3 separate regions of the Homo sapiens genome follow, and all the other regions are linked to region 2. The links are contacts of gene promoters, found by promoter capture Hi-C in blood cells and fetal thymus (Javierre and others, 2016). All regions are on one chromosome and are shown on one strand. The core of a region is centred on a gene start or on the middle of the fragment in contact, and the rest is flanking DNA. Distances in the headings are between cores, read along the strand shown.

Evidence for each region. The method cuts DNA at HindIII sites, captures the fragments that hold promoters and counts their contacts. A CHiCAGO score of 5 or more calls a contact.
Region 1: a fragment that was not itself captured here is called in contact with the fragment with the promoter of PIK3CG in region 2 in 4 of 17 cell types (naive CD8 T cells, neutrophils, naive CD4 T cells and 1 more); the score reaches 6.0 in naive CD8 T cells.
Region 3: a fragment that was not itself captured here is called in contact with the fragment with the promoter of PIK3CG in region 2 in 10 of 17 cell types (naive CD4 T cells, naive B cells, total B cells and 7 more); the score reaches 10.0 in naive CD4 T cells.

What each region holds. Positions count from the first base shown.
Region 1 is chr7:107,184,333-107,187,032 of GRCh38, reverse strand. HBP1 (HMG-box transcription factor 1) reads right to left here. Exons shown (of 11, transcript NM_012257.4): 4 at 1,091-1,232; 5 at 561-672; 6 at 352-464. Among named protein-coding and RNA genes, the nearest start is that of HBP1, 17 kb to the right of the region's middle. The HindIII fragment of the contact is 689 bases long and covers 950-1,638 here.
Region 2 is chr7:106,863,836-106,866,535 of GRCh38, reverse strand. PIK3CG (phosphatidylinositol-4,5-bisphosphate 3-kinase catalytic subunit gamma) reads right to left here and starts at 1,254. Exons shown (of 11, transcript NM_001282426.2): 1 at 1,110-1,254. RefSeq lists an enhancer at 1,083-1,182. The HindIII fragment of the contact is 4,956 bases long and covers 791-2,700 here.
Region 3 is chr7:107,163,757-107,166,456 of GRCh38, reverse strand. No RefSeq gene overlaps it. Among named protein-coding and RNA genes, the nearest start is that of HBP1, 3.9 kb to the left of the region's middle. The HindIII fragment of the contact is 5,231 bases long and covers 1-2,700 here.

The DNA.
Region 1 (2,700 bases), core at 45-2,544, 320 kb before region 2:
GATCCACCCGCCTCAGCCTCCCAAAGTGCTGGGATTACAGGCATGAGCCACTGCGCCCGACCTCATTACATATTTTTAATACCAGTTTTCCCCATTGTAAAGTGTATAAAACACGAAGAAGCACCAAGAAATATACTATTTCCCATCCAAGAAAGCATGTTAGAAAGGCAAACCTAAAATCATTGCTCCTCCCCATCAGACTAAGCAATGAGTGGTCATAAAAATGCTCTACCTAAAATGTACGATGTCATTTAAATATCAAAGTGAATGGAGGATATTTCTGTAGATTAACAATAAATCTTGTTTCATTTGGAAAGATTTTGAAAAATTTTTTAAGAATTTTAAATCAACCTTGTGAATGCCCATTTGAAGATCTTCCTCATTATCACAGCCTTCAGCTCTAGCAAAATCTTCAACATCTTGCCATTCCTTATTGCTTCCCTTATGAAAGCACAGTCGTGTGCCTAAGGTTTAGGTAGAAAACACGTATTAGACACGTGACTGTACTAGACAAGTAAGCTGTGGAAAATTCAAGGTTTTTGTTTGTTTGTTTGTTTTACCTTTCAAAAAACAGTGCCAGACAGTTGAAGGCCAGGAATTGCACCATCCCAAATCATCATCATCTGACAGGGAGGACATGCAGAAAATGCCAGATTCTGACTCACTATTTGCCTATGGAGAAAAATATTATCAACTTTTTTATTTGTTTTTAAAATATACCTTTTAATATCTGTTTTCATCCCACGTCTTTAGGCCCATGCTTATAGGTGGATAACTTAGTAATTCTAACCTTAGGGAAAATATAATGCCTTCAAAAACTGAGGGTTGTCAGGCTGTGGGAGAATTTGCTAAAAAAAAAAAAAAAAGAAAAAAAAAGAAAAAAAAGACACACACAAAACAAAGTTTTTGGAAGCTTTAGTTATACGCACATTCCCATTAATAATAAGCTTTCCTAACACATAGCAGAGCTGTATATAAAATCAAATCCAGATCACTAACAGAACAGTGAGACTACTTCCTATGAGGAATGTTAATGTACTTCAACTGTTGTACAAACTTTGTAAAAGTTTAACCTCATAAATAAACTTACCCTTTCGTGTCTTACTGGTGTTTCCTCCTTCCAATGGTGATGAGGGAAGGCTGGTTCACTCTTCGAAGAAGAGGACACTGGTGGAGGGCGTGCATAGGAATGTAAACTTTTGCTAGTGGCTATGATGTGTACAGGAGATGATCTAAAATAAAGCAACAGTTTCAACCATAAGCATAGGTCCTTAAAGTAGATCTTTCCTATTAATGAAAGAACTTCATATTTAAAACGCCAATGTTATTACATTGAACACATTTATGGTAAACACTAGTAAAGACAGCAAGATTTCATTTTATAATTATATTCCTTAACTCCTTATCCAAACCCTCCTCACACATTTTAGACATCGTTTTTTTCAGATTTGACAATATATTTTAAACTACGACTATGGTTTCATTTATTTATCCCATTCATTTTTCTATCAATACATATACATGTGTATATTTCGTTTGTGAATGATAATACCCCCTCTAATGCAGGGCGTCCTATCCATTTCTTTCTTCTACTTTGATGTACTCAGTAAGTCTCAGTATGAAGACAGCATTTAAGCTTAGTGTAACCAACTCTGAACTCTTTATCTACCAACCACATATCACTGGGCAGATACAAGAACTACCTTAAGCAAAAATGCTTACACTTTTTATAGCAGAGAGCAGCCTATCCACCCTCCTTGTAACTGGACACTATTTCTTGTTTTCTAATACAAACTTGCTGAAAAGCAACTACATATAAGGTCTAGTTATTTTTTCTCCTCAAAGATCACCTTAAAAAAAAAACTTTATCCCTTGCCCTCTTTTCTTCCCCTCAAAAGTCTCTTTTACCAGACAATGCTCCCTTTAGAGTATATGGAGCTCCCAGGAGCATACCCAGATCCTTCCCTCACAAACAGACCAGATATTCATGGGTGGGGTAACAGAAAGAAACAAGCCTATAGAGGATGATGAATGATGTGTATGGACTCAGCAGTCTGGAAAGGAAGCAGAGAGGAAGACAGCCAGGTGGAGGAGGGAAAACCATCTGAAGGTAAGGTCCCAAATCAGGATAATTGTCTGAGATGCCAAATAGAGATCTGGTCCTTAACAGAAAAAGTTTATGCATGTCTGTACTAATACTCTTTAAAAAGGAGAGGAAGGGCCGGGTGCAGTGGCTCATGCCTGTAATCCCACCCAGCACTTTGGGAGGCCAAGGCAAGCGGATCACGAGGTCAGGAGATGGAGACCATCCTGGCTAACACAGTGAAACCCCATCTCTACTTAAAATACAAAAAACCAGCCAGGCATGGTGGTGGGTGCCTGCAGTCCCAGCTACTCGGGAGGCTGAGGCAGGAGAATGGCGTGAACCCGGAAGGCGGAGCTTGCAGTGAGCCGAGATTGCACCACTGCACTCGAGCCTGGGCGACAGAGCAAGACTCCGTCTCAAAAAAACAAAAACAAAAAAGAGAGAAAGGACATCTTTCCAATTTTTCCCTTATTCCCTGAGAATTTGTATTAGCCCTTCAATTTCTACCTTATCCTCATTAACATTTTTCATTTTACCTTTCCAGAAATTACTTTTACATAAGGATCTATACTTTCATGTTCACATCACTCCTTAAATCGAAAGGCCCTCAGATT
Region 2 (2,700 bases), core at 5-2,504:
AGACCCCCAATCATTTAACTTCTTTTTTGCTCTAATATTTTCATTTTTGTAACACAAATTCACAAATTTATTCTCATTAACCTACTCACTCTTTCCACAAAATTCAGTAAGTACCTACCCTTCACAAAGCACTTATGTATAAATAGGACATACTGCAATAGGAAATCCTTCAAATAATAATTGAAATTTGAAAGGTATTAACACTGAAAGATTAGGTATTTTGCTTTCAATGTTTAGTATCACTACATTGTAATACATTATATTCTAAACGAATCAATTATTGAAACAAAAAATTAATGTTTCAGAAAATATCGTTTACTCTCTTAAATAACTAATGTTAGACTTAAAACTACATTATTTCCTTAAGAAATAGTGGAGCATTTGATGTATACCAAAAAGGAGAGCTTGATAAGAAGATAAGAAAGACAAATTTCATTTGATCCAAACTTATGTTCAAATCTTGGCTTAACTTTTAAAACCAATATTCCCTCTCTTAAAATATGAAGTTATACTTAGTAAGTGAAACCAACTGTCCCAAAGAACTGTCTCTTGTGGCTTAAAACATTCATTTTGGTCTTTTGCTACATTATAGAATAACTAACAAAGAAGAGAACTGTAAGATACATTGATATTGACACTAACTTGAAATAAAACATGTCCAAATTTAGGCAGCATATAAATACACAGCAATAACTTCTGCCTCAGTGATACCAAACGATCTTATAAGATGCAGAGGAAAACAGGCTGACTAATACTCACTGGTTTCCTTCATGGTTGAGGCTATGAAGCTTTCCCCTTTTATGAGAAGATGTTGGAAACACTGTAAGTACAGTAATCTTGAAGCATGCACTTGTAGGAATATGAAGCCTGGCTGCCGTGCCCTCCCTTTTCCTCCCAAAACAAAAACAAAAATGTGATGCACCTGCAAAACTATTGCCGGAACGTTGTAGATATCCACAATACAGGTTGGACTAGACAATGAAACACAGACATTCGGTGGTAGTATCATCTCAAGAACCGACAACAGTTTCAGATAATCTAGCCGAGAAGGAAGTGCCACTATTCCGAGTCAGACCCCACAAAGAGCAAAAAATAGAAGGAAGCAATACCTGATAAAGCAGCGGAGGCGATGATGCTGAAGGATCATTTGTTTAATTTTTGAAAACAAAACAAATTCAAACCTACCCAGTGTGCGTCTAAATTCTTCCGCTTTTCTGGGGCTCCCTTCATATCCAGATGCAGAGGAAGTGTTGCAGTTACCAGGAAGGAAGTTTTAACCAAGTTGATTATACGTGTGATTGCTCATTTTAAAAGTGTCAGAAATGCATTTCCTGTTTTAGCATAGAGAGGGTAGGAGTATGAGACTGAGCAATGTTTACCATGGTTTTTCTTTTCTTTTTTTTTTCTCTTTGAACTAATTTTTCAAAAATTGTGATACTGAGACAAAATGACATAAATCCAAACCAAAATTACCCATTATGAGACATAAACATATGAAATATCTTTGTAGCTAGTTCTAAGAGCCACAGTATTAGGTATCCTATTAGGAAGACTTTTACCAGTCAAATTAAACTCATTCCCCTCCTGGGAATTCAAAAGAATCCTTGTTCGCACATGCTAACTGAGGGGTGGGGGAAGAGAAACCTAGTCATCTTGAGGACTAAGTTATCAAGCTGAAAATTTTTAAAGGCATGGTCTGCAAGCTCACTTCCTTAGCTTGGTGAGAGCTTTCTCTATTTTTTCAGAGCATTTGGGGCCTAAAATATCACTGGCTCAAACTGAAAGCACTGCAGCATGTGCATGTGTGTATATAAATGTGACATACTGCAGTAAGTAACCCTTCAAATAATGGTTGAAATGCTAAAAGTATTAAAATTGAAAGATGAATAAAAAGGTATTTTGATTTTAATACTAAGTACCACTACATTGTAACACATTATATTCCAAACAAGGATCAACTATTGAAACAAAAATTAATGCTTCAGAAAATATCCTGTGTTGAGGATGGAGCCTTACTGTCAGCAATGACTGATTAATTAACTGTAGACAAAACAGAAGGAGGTTGCCTGTTATCATGGGGAAATTGGGGAGCTGAACACTGTTACAGCATCAGGCAGATTCCATCCTGGGAGGTGGCCCCTGATTCCTATGGGAGTAGAGAATGCATAGAAAAGCCATCCTGAATCATTTTTAGAGTAGCGTTGTATCTTCCAGGTGACCTCAGTTCTTTCTAGAACCTCCAAGCATCCTGAACCAGCGCCCCCTCCCTCCATCTCAGAATTCCCTATGCTAGAGTTCATCCTCCAATCGGGGTGTTGAGGGACTCCAGCTGAGCTTCAAGGGCAGCAGATAGAATGGAGTTGACCTCACAAGTCTCTTGGAGGTATGTAATTAAGAGTTCCTCTGAATTACTCTGATATTGAGATAAATGATTGATTTGACTTATTTCCTTTTACATATGCCTCTTGGGTTTTAACTTTTAAATAGCACTCTAATAGTTGACATCAGCAGGCAAATAATTTAATTCAAAGGCTGCCTCCCAAATATTTAGAGGGGTCTTATCAGCTTCTCAAAGTATATTCCTATATAGGAATACTCCCTTAGGAGGCTGGCAGCTTTAGAAGCACCAAGGCTAGCTTTCTTGGTTGGTCCTGAGGGAAGATCAACACACTGTAGCCACCAAGCCATGATGTGAGAGCT
Region 3 (2,700 bases), core at 129-2,628, 300 kb before region 2:
TCATCATTAATTGAGTGACCAATAAAACTAGCCAACTTATAAGCCAGAACAAAGATCAAAGTACAAAACTAGTAAGATCTCCTTGGAAATTTTTACATGTGCTAATTATACTCTCAGACTAAAACAGATATAACTACAGTTTTTAACTATCTTTCAGATGTTTCCATGATAAAATTGAAGTTAAAAAATCAGTTACTTTAAATAACACCTCTTCTTGATTGGTACAGTCACCATATCTATACACACATATACACACATAAAATGTATGCAAAAAAATGTCAAGAAATTGTCAAATCAAAATGTCTTTCCAGCGGTTTGTAAAGTTACCTCTGTTATCTTAAATATCAAGTTCTAATTTGTTAGAGATAGTAAAAAACGAACAGAAGAAAAACAAAAAACCGGTAAATCCTATTTAGGAGTGAAATAATGTGTTTCCCTGATTCCACCATATTTGACACACCAATGACTGCTTTGCTTAACTACAGAGAAGTTCAAGTACATGCATTGCCTGATATTGAAAATAATCACTTTGAATTGTCAAAAGGTAAACAAATGAAATCACATGAACAAGTACTAAATGGAGAAATTGAACACATGTATGGTCTAAGTACTTCTCAAAGTTTTCAGACAGCATCTTGAATGTTTAAACTCCAACAAATATCCTTCCATATACCTTACTATCCTTTCAAATGAGTTAATTTTCTAATTAGTTCAAAGTACTCAGGTAATTCAGTCAAGTTGTAATGAAATCCACAGGAGCTAATGATGGCCATTGTAGAAGTGAGTCATCTGTCTCCTGTTCCTGTAGTTCTTGATGCAACTGAAGTTTAGATTTTGCTCCGATGACCAGAAAGCAAGACCTTTCTTCAGTGGCTGATAAGCTAATGTCTTAACACTATAACCACATTAGGAAGAAAAATCAACGTAAAAGGGAAGAATCAAAATGATTGTGTCTCCAGCTTGGGTAATTGCAGTATGTTGGGGAAGGGTGGTTATGTTGATGTTATTGACTGAGGGAATGCTGGAGAGGATAGCAGATTTGGGGACTGGGAGGAAGGGAAAGGATAGGTTCAACCTCGGGTGATAAGCATGCTGTGCAGGAAGAAATTTGAGTCCAGAGGTCCTTGGGCAGCTGAATATATTCATCTGGCATTTAGGAAGTCCAAGTCTGGAGAAATAAACCTGGGTATCCTCAGGACATAGAGAGGAGTACTCATTTTTTTATCCCAATTTTTCCCAAAAAGTTTTTGTCAAGTCTAATTTGGTATAAATGAAAATGTATTTAGAGAAGGCAACAATTCTATTTCATCTCACTCTCGATGTTTAAAATCAAGCTCAAATGACTATTCTCATGTCCTGCAAGTTTTCTAGAGATCATTACTGTTATCTGAACTATTTAACACAAACTCTCACATAGTATTTTCTACTCCCGTCTATTTGGTATCCTAGGACCTTCTCTATGTTTAGTTGCTAGCAAAAAGTACCTCATTTTAAGTGCAATTAAGTCAGATAAAGAGCAATTAAAATTGTAGGAATAGGGCGGGGCACGGTGGCTCACGCCTGTAATCCCAGAACTTTGGGAGGCTGAGGTGGGCAGATCACAAGGTCAAGAGATCAAAACCATCCTGGCCGAAATGGTGAAACCCCATCTCTACTAAAAATACAAAAATTAGCTGGGTGTGGTGGCACGCACCTGTATTCCCAGCTACTCGGGAGGCTGAGGCAGGAGAAACGTTTGAACCCAGGAGGCAGAGGTTTCAGTGAACCGAGATCACACCATTGCACTCCAGCCTGGGTGACAGAGCCAGACTCTGTCTCAAAAAAAAAAAAGTAGGAATAGTACACACATCGCTTTTATCACACTGTGCTAAACTGAATATTGTTGCTTACATTTGTCCCCCCTCCACATTTACATTCTCTCCTTATCAGTCACCATCTCATGCGCTTTTTTTTGTCTGGTCCATAATAAGCTATTAAAAAAATACCTACCTGTGGAACAAATGAATAAAAAGGGGAGACAAGCAGCATGAATTTTCTCATATACAGCGTAGTGTAGCACTATATATAGGATGCTGGTCTGAATATTTGACTTTGTTAAATAACTTGCATGCACTTTAACTGTCACTTCCTCTATGTAATCATTGTTATTATTTGAGAACGTCTCATCTTTCAGCTATGTTTATATGATAAGCACTATTATTCATTTTTGTTTCCCTCACAGTGTCAGTCACTCAAAGGCAAACAAAGTATTGGGTTGCTGCAAAAGTAATTGTGATTTTTACCATTTTTACCATTTAAAAAATGGCAAAAACCACAATTACTCTTGCACCAACCTAATTAACACTTCAACTCCTTCAAGTTATACAGAATATAAGTAATAAAAATGTTGAGGATATTTAATTGTTCAGCTTTAAAGTGCAATTATGAGAAAATAGATTTACCAAAGATGTCTTTATAGTGTGCACCTTTCTTAAAATATTGCTTGGCTTTTAAAAAATGTCATTTGTATATACCTCAAGAATATAGTCATTATGTAAAGGAAGTACACTTGTATTAAATGTCAGCCCTTGGCCTAAGAGAGGTGATGAAGTTTCAGGGATGCAGAGTTTATTCTCTTGTTCCTCAGCAAGATCTAGGAAGGTTTCTGATTAGAACCAAGATGGAAAACCAGTCATCAATAGCAACTTTATCTAAGATTTT